Regions from separate parts of the Homo sapiens genome. Here all the other regions are linked to region 4. The links are contacts of gene promoters, found by promoter capture Hi-C in human tissues and cell types (Jung and others, 2019). All regions are on one chromosome and are shown on one strand. The core of a region is centred on a gene start or on the middle of the fragment in contact, and the rest is flanking DNA. Distances in the headings are between cores, read along the strand shown.

Evidence for each region. The method cuts DNA at HindIII sites, captures the fragments that hold promoters and counts their contacts. A contact is called where the count stands out against the background at its distance.
Region 1: a contact is called between a fragment that was not itself captured here and the fragment with the promoter of UTP20 in region 4, in 3 of the 25 tissues and cell types used here (H1 embryonic stem cells, mesendoderm cells and thymus).
Region 2: a contact is called between a fragment that was not itself captured here and the fragment with the promoter of UTP20 in region 4, in 2 of the 25 tissues and cell types used here (adrenal gland and mesendoderm cells).
Region 3: a fragment that was not itself captured here is called in contact with the fragment with the promoter of UTP20 in region 4 in 3 of the 25 tissues and cell types used here (mesenchymal stem cells, mesendoderm cells and thymus).

The regions. Positions count from the first base shown.
Region 1 is chr12:101,371,051-101,373,750 of GRCh38, forward strand. It overlaps UTP20 (UTP20 small subunit processome component), which reads left to right. Exons shown (of 62, transcript NM_014503.3): 51 at 8-118; 52 at 1,834-1,913; 53 at 2,351-2,420; 54 at 2,535-2,700. Among named protein-coding and RNA genes, the nearest start is that of ARL1, 35 kb to the right of the region's middle. The HindIII fragment of the contact is 7,636 bases long and covers 1-2,700 here.
Region 2 is chr12:101,160,621-101,163,378 of GRCh38, forward strand. It overlaps SLC5A8 (solute carrier family 5 member 8), which reads right to left. Exons shown (of 15, transcript NM_145913.5): 13 at 1,354-1,457. Among named protein-coding and RNA genes, the nearest start is that of SLC5A8, 48 kb to the right of the region's middle. The HindIII fragment of the contact is 7,218 bases long and covers 1-2,758 here.
Region 3 is chr12:101,198,544-101,201,243 of GRCh38, forward strand. All of the region lies in intron 3 of SLC5A8 (solute carrier family 5 member 8), which reads right to left. It also overlaps the pseudogene RNU6-768P. Among named protein-coding and RNA genes, the nearest start is that of SLC5A8, 10 kb to the right of the region's middle. The HindIII fragment of the contact is 7,035 bases long and covers 1-2,700 here.
Region 4 is chr12:101,278,737-101,281,436 of GRCh38, forward strand. It overlaps UTP20 (UTP20 small subunit processome component), which reads left to right and starts at 1,369. Exons shown (of 62, transcript NM_014503.3): 1 at 1,369-1,591; 2 at 2,380-2,460. The coding sequence starts at 1,547. RefSeq lists enhancers at 1,068-1,659, 1,393-1,442. The HindIII fragment of the contact is 9,089 bases long and covers 1-2,700 here.

The DNA of each region.
Region 1 (2,700 bases), core at 148-2,647, 92 kb after region 4:
ATCTTAGGCAATTTTATCAAGAAAGCTGTTGGTCCCAGAAATCGATGAGGTCATGCGGAAAGTATCCAAGTTGGCAGTCTCTGCACAAAGCGAACCTGCCAGGGTCCAGTGTAGACAGGTTTGTAGAGAGCACTTATCCCCATAGCAAGGGCTGGGCCCTGCCGCATCTTTGTGGCAGAGGTGTCAACACTGGCTGAATTCTGAAGACCACCTTGTGTCGTATTGTTGCTTTATGCTGAGACTTGGGCGTCCTGGTGCAGGTGGTCAGGGGAGGCTTTTTCTGGGGACTGACAGGCAGGCCAAAATTTGAAGGAAGAAAAAGGCTTAGCTTTCAAGGTGAGGGGGCAGTAGAGGCTTGAGGTGAGTGAGAGCTTAGCTTGGTTGAGGAGCTCAACACAGGTAAGTGAATTGAGGGGTGGGGAGCCAGGTTGGGCAGGACCTTGTGGTCTTGTTAAAGATTTGGGGCTTTGTTCTTTTTTTTTTTTTTTTTTTTTTTTTTGAGACGGAGTCTCACTCTGTCACCAGGCTGGAGTGGTGCAGTGGCGCGATCTCGGCTCACTGCCACCTCCACCTCCCAGGTTCAAGTGATTCTCCTGCCTCAGCCTCCTGAGTAGCTGGGACTACAGGCATGCACCACCACACCCAGCTAATTTTTGTATTTTTAGTAGAGATGAGGTTTCACCATGTTGGCCAGGATGGTCTTGATCTCTTGACCTTGTGATCCACCCACCTTGGCCTCCCAAAGTGCTGGGATTACAGGCGTGAGCCATGGTGCCTGGTGGGGCTTTGTTCTAAGAATAGCAAGGAGCTATTTAAATCCTTAGGGAGAGGAGTGACAGGATCAGGTTTATATCTATACATCTGTCAATCTCTAATTTTATGAACACATACTGTGCCCAAAGAGGTGGAAAGGTCTAAGTTGGAAATAGGAACTCAGGGTTGCAGGTGGGTTTGGGCTGCTGAGGAGGCCAGGGTGGAAGGCAAGATGCATGTCTCTGGAAATAATTGCTTGGCCACTATTAGGAAGAAGAAGGGTCAGCTGCTATTAAGCACTAGCTGTGTGCCTAGCACTTTAAATGCATGACCTCTGTTTACAGGTACCCTTCAGAAGAAACGGTATCCCCATTTTACCGCGAGGGAAAGGCAGGCTTGGAAACTTGAATGATGTCGCCTAGTTCTCACAGTTTATTAATAAAGGAGGCTAGATACCATAGTGGTTTGAAAGTGCAGCCTTTGGACACAGACTAGGCATGGAATTCTGGCAGTGTCACATGAACAAGTTTCTTATTGTCTCGGCCAACTTCATTCCCTTCAACTAGAAAATGGGCTATTATCACGAACTTCTTAAGGGAATGATGAGATTTAACTGAGAAACACTTAACGCAGTGCTTGGCACATAGAGGGTTTTTAGTAAATGCATTAGTTATTATTATCAGTATTGATATTATCACTGTGTTGTTATTCTTGTTGAAGGGGAGATACCAGATTGGACCACAGTCCATACTGTGGTACACCTGTCACCACCTGTCACAGAGAGATCAGCTTCCAACCTGTGGGCTTAGATTTGTAGTCTTAAACCACAGTGCCAGTGGCAGGCCAGGGCTTGCCTCTGTCAGGCACATAGGGCAGGACCAGATGAATGGTGGGAGAAATGAAGGGTCACAGTTGCTATTGACTTCATAGGCAGATTTAGCTGGAGTGCATTGGAAAGCCTGATTGATTGCCATTCTGTAAAGTTTTTATAACCTACCAGTGAGTTCCAGAAAGCAGCTTAGGAAACAGGAATACTAGAGGTGAGATCCAAATAATCATCTGTGTGACTTTTGTTCCTAGGTTTTTCTGAAATATATTCTTGACTATCCCCTGGGTGACAAATTGAGACCAAACTTGGAATTCATGCTCGCTCAACTGAAGTAAGCTTAAGCTATTAACTACACAGGGGCGGAGGGTAGTTTCTTCTTTCCCTTTAACATGGCGGCTGTCTTAAAAAGGATGGGGCCTAAGTATAATGGTACATTCTCTGAGCATACTGTTATATGACTCATTGACTTGATAATCAGACATTGTGCTTGGCTTCATATAGCCGTTCTCTGAGTTGCTTTTCAATCTAATTTAACCGTTGATTGTCATAAGAGTCCACTTAGGAGAATGTTGAAATCTGACACACTTACATTTAAAATTGTACAGTGATAGCTTAATGGATACATACAAGCATTAAAATTAGGAAAACAGAGCATTTTCCATTTTTTTAAGAAGTAAACTGACACCTTGATACAATATTTTCATTTTTTAAATAATTATTTGTAAATTTAGAAGATACTAACAAATCCACCTAATGTCCTTCCCCTAGTTACGAACATGAGACCGGGAGAGAGTCCACCTTGGAAATGATCGCCTATCTCTTTGACACGTTCCCTCAGGTACTGTGACCCCAGAGATAAGCCCCGTGACTCCTGGAAGTCCTCAGTCCCCCTTTGCTAGAGCATCTGTAGGAATTCCACTCTGAGTGCTCACACGTGCCTCTTTTCTTTTAGGGGCTGCTCCATGAGAACTGCGGAATGTTCTTTATCCCTCTTTGTCTAATGACGATCAATGATGACTCTGCCACGTGCAAAAAGATGGCATCCATGACAATCAAGTCCCTACTTGGTAAAATCAGCCTCGAGAAAAAAGATTGGCTGTTTGATATGGTTACCACTT
Region 2 (2,758 bases), core at 127-2,626, 120 kb before region 4:
TCCGCACTACCCCGGCCCCAGCACTGTGATCTCTCACCTGGGTTACTGCAATAGCCTCTTCCCTGCCCTCGTTCCCCTACAGACTATTCTCAAAATTGGATCAGAGCACTCCTTTGAGAATTATTGGAAAAGTAAGTGAAAAAATATCTCACATAGTAGACCTAAAAGACACGGAGAGGAAAAATAAGAGAGAAAAAAACGAGAAAATTAGAGGAACTGTCCATGATTCTGATTCAAATGTTTGACTAATAGGAGTTCTCAGAGAGAGAACACAGAAAATTATTAAAAATAGAAATAAAAAGGAAGAAAAGAAAACAAAAAAGAAAATGTCCAGAACTGAAGGGCATGGATCTTCAGATTGAATGGGCCCTACTGAAGGCCTAGGCCAAGGCAGTCATTGTGAAAATGGGACACACACAAAGTGTCAGCTGGTAGCAGAGCGCTGTCACAACAGCAACATAGCAAGCTAGAAAAAAATTCAGACATCCTCTCAGAAAAAAGAAAAGTTCTTTTCAACCCTAGCAATTTCTACTCAAACAATCAATCAAGCATAAGATAGATTAAATAATTTTTTTTCAGACACACAAAGTTTCCAAAACCTCTTCTTTTGTCTACTCTTTCTTGAGAATATGCTATAGGATGTGTTTCATTCAATTAAGGGAGTAAATGAGAATGAGAAGTAATGAATATAGGCAGTAGAAAACCCAACACAGGAACAGGGGCTAAGAGAATTCATAGAATGAGGACAAAATGGAGTCCCAAGATAACCGTTCTATAGCAATCCCAGAGAGCAATTTATATACTATGTGTATCAATTTGATTTTTTAAAAATGAACACACTTTTTAAAAAATGATAAATATCTGAAAAAAAAGCCTCCACACTATGTTTAGATATAACCTGTGTATGCTTCTTTACAGTTCACAAAGAATGAATACTGGACCATGTAAAGATCACAGCATATTGGGTTATTATAAAAATATGTGTAAAATCCCTAACATCATAGCAGTTATGAAGTTCTTTTCAAGCATCTTATTTTTGTCTTACAGCAACTTGTGAGATGGGCAGGTCGATTATTATTGTCCTCATTTTATACATAAGAAAGCTGAGGCTCAGTGTAGCTATGTGACTTGCCCAAGTTCATGCAGCCCCTAAAGGGCAGAACCAAGATTCAAATAGAAATGAGTCTTCTGCTTTCAAGTCTAGGCCTTCAGATTTCCCATGAGTAAAACAGAAGAAATAATTAAACTAGTTGGCAATAGGATCATAGTAAAATAACATAAATAGCTATAAAACAGATACAGTAAAAACTGATATAGAGGTAAATACAACAATACTAATGTTTAGATAGTTACCTGTTGATAAACTGACAAGTATCCCCACTAATAATGTTACCAAAGTTCCAACAGTGCTGAAGTACAGATATGATAAAGAATACCAGTTATCCATCAGTGGAGTCCTAAGAGAGCAAAAACACAACGGTAAGATTTCATGTAATGCCACTAGCAACTACCAGTATATACCAGTGATTCCCATGGCAAGGTCAAAATATAACACTTAATAATGTTTTTAATGTCATAACCTGCTGTCCTAATTTTATCTTATCAGATCAGGAATTGAAAGCAAAACTTCACCTTGACTATATACTAAAATACTTGAAGGTCATGTTTATTCATTCAATTCTGCATGATGTCCCAGGCACTGCTCTTGTGATTGGACAGTCAGCCATAAATAAGGTAGATAAACCATTTGACCCAGCAATCCCACTACTGGGTATACATCCAAAGGAAAATAAATTGTTCTACCAAAAAGACACGTGCACTTATATGTTCATCGCAGCACTATTCCCAACAGCAAAGACATGCAATCAACCTAGGTGCCCATCAATGGTGGACTGGATAAAGAAAATGTGGTACATATACACCATGGAATACCATGCAGCCATGAAAAAAGAACAAAATCATGTCCTTTTCAGCAACATGGATGCAGCTGGAGGCCATTATCCAAGCAAATTAATGCAGGCACAGAAAACCAAATACCACATGTTCTCACTTATAAGTAGGAGCTAAATGTTGGTTACTTATGGACACAAAGAAGGGAACAATAGACACTGGGGACTACCAGAGGGTGAAGGGAGACAGGCAAGAGTTTACCCAAGTAAGAAACCTGCACAGGTATCTAAAATAAAAGTTGAAATTATTTTTTAAAAATAAAGTAGATAAGATTCCTGCTAACATATAGTTTATACTCTAATGGAGAGATAAATACAATAAACAAATTAATAAATATAATAATTTCCACTAGTAGAAAGTGCTGTAAGGAAAGTAAAACAAGATGATGTGCTATTAACAGGGTGAAGAGGGAGGAACTACACTACAAGTGGTCAGAGAAAACCTTTGGGAATAAATGACATTTGAACTGAGATCTGAGAAACAAAATGTTCTTGAGGAAAACAGAGACTAAACACCAGCTGACTGAGGCACAGTGAGCAAGACAGTGATTACAAGATGAAAGATAGGCAGGGGGCTTTTTGTGGGACCAGGCATGAGTTGGAATTTTACTCTACAGGCAATGGCACTCATTGCAATGTTTTAAGTGAAAGAGTAACATGAACATTCTATGATCATTTCTACAATGATTGCTCTAGGATTCCACTTTCAGTTTTGATAGCTGCTTGATTTAGAACAATCATTCTGCTGAGAACAATATATAAAACCTGGGGCATGGGGAGGGAGGCAGGTTTTTGAAGCTATCAGAGAG
Region 3 (2,700 bases), core at 160-2,659, 80 kb before region 4:
AAGCATTCCCTAAAAAATACAATTTACCAAAACTGACCCAACAAGACTTTTAAAATATGAATAACTCTATATTTACGAAATAAACTGAATCCATAAACCAAAATCTTTCTACAAAAACAAAGAGTAGGCCCAGATGCCTTCAGGGTGATTTCTACCAAGCATGTAAGAAATAAATACACAATTTTATATAAACTATTTCAGAAAATGGAGGAGGGAACACTTTTCAATTCATTTATGAAGCCTTATCAAAATGTTAGCAAATCGAATTCGGTAATATATAAAAAGGATAATACATTATGAGCAAGCAGGGTTTATCCCAAGAATGCAAAAATTGGTTTAATATTCAAAATTCAGTCAATGTAACTTTTCACATTAACATTACAATAAGACAGGAAAGAGAACTAAGAGCTATAAGGATTAGAAAAGAAGTAAAATTGTCACTATTCATAAACAACATGAAAATCCTAAGGGATCACCAAAAATCTGCTTGATTTAAAAAGCAAATTCAGCAAGTTCTCAGGATGGAATATCAACATATAAAAGTCAGTTGTATTTTTATACACTTGCAACGAATAATTGAAAAATAAAACAATGACATTTGCAATAGCATAAAAAACAACAATTATCTAGGAATAAATCTAAGAAATAGTAAAAGACCTCAACATCCAAAGCTACAAAACATTACTAAGAGACTTTTTATTTTATTATTTCTTTTCTTCCTTTTTTAAAAAATATGGAATGCTTCACAAATTTGCATATCATTTTTGTGCAAGGGCCATGCTAATATTCTCTGTATTGTTCCAGTTTTAGTATACATGCTGCCAAAGTGAGCACTAAGAGAAATTTTTAAAGGCCTAGGTAAATGAATAGATATATCATGTAATGTATTAGAAGAATATCTGCTTTTGTGAAGTGTTCAAGTCTTTGGCTCACTTTTTATTAGGTTATTTGTCTTTATTCACTTTATTATTTCAGAAGCCAATAAGCTAAGCCATAATAGTCTAATAATAAGCTAAGCCATAATAGTCATATAGAAAGTGAAAACTGAAACAACAATAAAATAATAGGTAATACCCACTAGAATGACTGAAATAAAAAAGAATAATATCAAATGCTGGCAAGGATGTGGAATGACTAGAATTCTCACATATTGCGTAGTGGACATGGAAAACGATATAGCCACTTGGAAAAACTGTTTGGCAATTTCTTGTAAATTTGCACACATTTCTATCCTCAGCTGGGTCCAAATAGAATTATATTTTTAATTTTATACTACATCCATGTATTTCATTTCCAATGGAAGTGAAAACAGGTGTGAAAAAGAAAAACAAAATGCACAAAACCTTTAGAAGAATGTTCTTGGCACCCTTACTTCACTATAGCCTAAAACTGGAAACAACCCAAGTCTATAACAAGAGAATGGATAAAAAAATGTTGGTAGAGGCATAAAATGAAGTACTACCAGCAAAAAAAAAAAAAAAAAAAAAAAAAAAAAAAAAAAAAAAAAAAAAGGGAATGAACTACTGATATATATGTAGCAGCATGAATGAATCTCAAAACATTTTGCTGAGCAAAAGAAACCAGACATGAAAAGGCTCTATATGATTCCACTTATATAAAATCTAACAACAGGGAAAACTAGTTTATGGTAGCATAACTCAGAAAATGATTTCTTGGGCCCATAGGAGATTTGTTAGAAAGACATGCAAGGAAAATTTCTGAGAGTGGATGACGGAAATAGTCTATATCTTGAGCGGGGTGGTAGTCACACAAGCTATTAGGCAACTACTAAAACTCATCCAACTGTACACTTCCCCATGCTCTGTGCATTTTATTGTATGTTAACTATACCTCAATAAAAACTAGTTTTCTCAACAGGCATCAGGTGGTCAGGAAAAAAGAAAGAAAGAAAAACTGGTTTTCAATTTTAAAAAGCAGAAAAGGGAAACTTAAGAGACATCAACTGATTGCAATCACATAAGCTTATTTGGATCCTGATTCTTATAAACACTGAAAAAAAATCAGGGAAATGTAAACACTGACTTGATATGAAATTAAGAAATTAATATTAATATTTTAGGTACAATGATGGTATGATTATGGTTTTTAAAGTCTTTATTTCTAAAGGACATACTGAAATACAGATGAAATGACATAACATATTTGCAGCAAAATAATCTATTAGAGGTAAGGGGGAGTGAATTAAAATGGACCATGAGTTGATAAATATTAACATAGAGTGATGAATGAGCACATTAAGGGGCTCTATTCTCTCTTAGTATTTGTATGAGGATTTCCAAAATTTAAAAAAGAAAAAAAGAGGTTAGACCTAGAGAATGTTAATTTTCAATTCAGTTAAATAAGCTTTTTTGAGCATCTATTGCACACTAAGTTCTGTGTCTATGCCTGTACCTACAGCTTTGGTCACAGTAAAACACACAACTGACACTCTAGTCATCAAAACACCTTCACTTTCATTCTAATTTACTCTCAGGGAGTGGTTTGAGCCTGATAAGAACAGAATGCTTGATTTCTTCACAGATTAAAGTCAGTCCTCTGGTAATTCCCAGAACTGCATTTTAAAACCATAATATGTTCAATTACACTTAAGTCCTAAATAGGTAACTCATGAAGTTTATAACTCAGTTCTCGACAAATGAGATGATCCACTTGTGATGTTGGTAATACCGATGTGGAACA
Region 4 (2,700 bases), core at 119-2,618:
TATCCAATTGTCTACTTAACATCACTCCTTGACTAAAATGTAAGCATCTCAGACCAAGTATTTCCAGTCTGGGCATGGTGGCTCACCCCTGTAATCCCAGCACTTTGGGAGGCCAAGCCAAGAGGACTGCTTGAGTCCAGAAGTTTGATACCAGCCTGGGCAATATAGCAAGATCCCATCTCTACAAATAATAATAATAATAATAATAATAATAATAATAATAATAAAAGAGCTGGGTGTGGTGGTGCATGCCTGTAGCCCTAGCTACTTGGGAGGCTGAGGTGGGAGGCTCACTTTAGCCCAGGAATTGAAGGCTGTGAATATTTTCAAATAATTAATTAATACTATTATTGCCTTTCTCGTTTGGCTCCCAGAACAGTACCTGGTCCACAGAGGACTCTCAAGAAATAGTTGCTGAATGAATGAATGAATGTAAAATGGGGTAAATAATTATATTTTTAAATTATTTTTTAAAATTGTACATATATGTATATATAACTGTACAATTTAACAACATGCTATGTGTAGACATTAAAGTGATGGGAAAAACACCAAACATTAACAGCGGTTGTGCATGAAATTAAAAGATTTTTCTTAAAACTCCTTCTCTATTTTTCAATTTTATTTACAGCGTAGTGGTTAAGAATACCAAAATTTAGAGTCTGAGTGAAGACTGCCAGTTACCAGCTGCACAACCTTGGTTTCCTCTTGTGTCAAATTGGCTTAAAAATATACACAGTACCGGCCAGGCGCGGTGGCTCACACCTGTAATCCCAGCACTTTGGAAAACCGAGGCGGGCGGATTGCCTGAGCTCAGGAGTTCGCGACCAGCCTGGGCAACAAGGTGAAACCCCGTCTCTACTAAAATACAAAAGAATTAGCCGGGCGTGGCGGCGGGTGCCTGTAGTCCCAGCTACTTTGGACGCTGAGGCAGGAGAACTGCTTGAACCCGGGAGGCGGAGATTGTAGTGAGCCGAGATCGCGCCACTGCCCTCCAGCCTGGGAGACAGAGTGAGACTCCGTCTCAAAAAAAAAAAAAAAAAAGTATATATCTATATATAGATATATAGATAGACGCAGTACCTCCTTTGTATTAACATCCCTAATAAGCTTTACTGTGAAATTATGGATGAAAGGATCTTTGCACGATGCAGGTACGTAGTGAGGGACAGTAATGTTAGTTGATAACGATTACAGGTATGTTTTATTTTATAATGAAAATACATTTGTCTTCTAAACCTTTACCGAAGGGAGTGAAAAGAACACCTCACCCAAACGCCCGCCCTTATGTGCGCAGCCCCGCCTCCTGTAGGCCCCACCCCACCAAAGGGTGCGCCTGCGCCGTTCTTTTTTCCGTCCACGTGACCCACTCAGGCTCCTCCTTGTCTCCAACATGGCGGCGCCCAGGGGCTCAAGCCGCACGTGAGAAAGTCTGGGCATCTGGGAATCGGAGAGTATAGCCTGTGAGCCGCTTTCCCCTCCTTACTGTCGGTTGCATCCCTTCGACACTCCCGAGGCCGTCGCGGGCCACTGGCCCTCTGCAGCCATGAAGACAAAGCCCGTTTCCCACAAGACCGAGAACACCTACCGGGTGAGCGCGGGAGCTTAGGCAGGGAGCCGCGGGTCTCCGCTGCCTCAGTCGTGAGACAGGCTCTGAGCGAGACTCCAGGGGCCTCAGACTTCTGGGCCGAGTGTGTCACTTTCCTGGAGGCTCCGGCGAAAGAGGGAGACACTGGATGTAGTAAACATGGGTTGGAGGAGGAAAGAAGTGTGGACAGCAAGTTTCACCCATGTTTTATGGGGTCTGGCCAGTCCTGGGAATTTCCTGTAGTCCAGAATTAAATTCACTATTCCAGGAGATTGCTTAGGACCAATTCTCCCCTGCTCTTTTATCTTTAAAGACCGAATTGGGCGAGTCGGCTGGCGGTGAGTGATTCCCAGCTAAGGGCAAATATACAGCGCTTTCTCTGTTTGCCCCTTGATAGATTGTTTCCAGGTCTTCCTTAGGATACAATCATAGGTCTGTATATGTTTAAAAACACTTTTATTGCAGCGACTTTGCTAGGTCCCCATGCTTATGGGAGGGTATGAAACCTAATAGATCTAGCGAGACTAATTGCCAGCATCCACCTAGGCTCACCAGTCTGGCAATGGAAATTTTATTTGAAATGACATAGCTGAGAGAAATTATGCAAACATAGAAGTATTCATTATCTTTGAACAGTGATGCAGTAAATTTGTTTACGGCCGTATGTTTTTCAGTTTATTTTTCCACTTATCCTTTGTGATTAGAGATGCCTACATGCAGCATTCAAATAGATATTAAAGATCTGATAAATTTTAATTAATTATGTATCTTAAATATACTTTCCCTTCCAGTTTCTTACATTTGCTGAACGACTGGGGAATGTTAATATTGATATTATTCACCGGATTGATAGAACTGCAAGCTATGAGGAGGTAAGAGAATGTGATACTAGTCAATCTTCAAGTGTTCATGGTGTTTTAGTTTCTTCTGTTAGTAGAAGTGAATTGTTTTTCAAGGTATTCCTTTTTGGACATGAAATGCTTTAGACCTGTGCTGTTTCATACAGTAGCCACATATGACAAATTGGATTTAAAGTAAATTAAAAATTTGGGTGCCCAAATGTGGCTAGTTGCTAACATATTGAATAAATATAGAATTGGAACATTTTCATC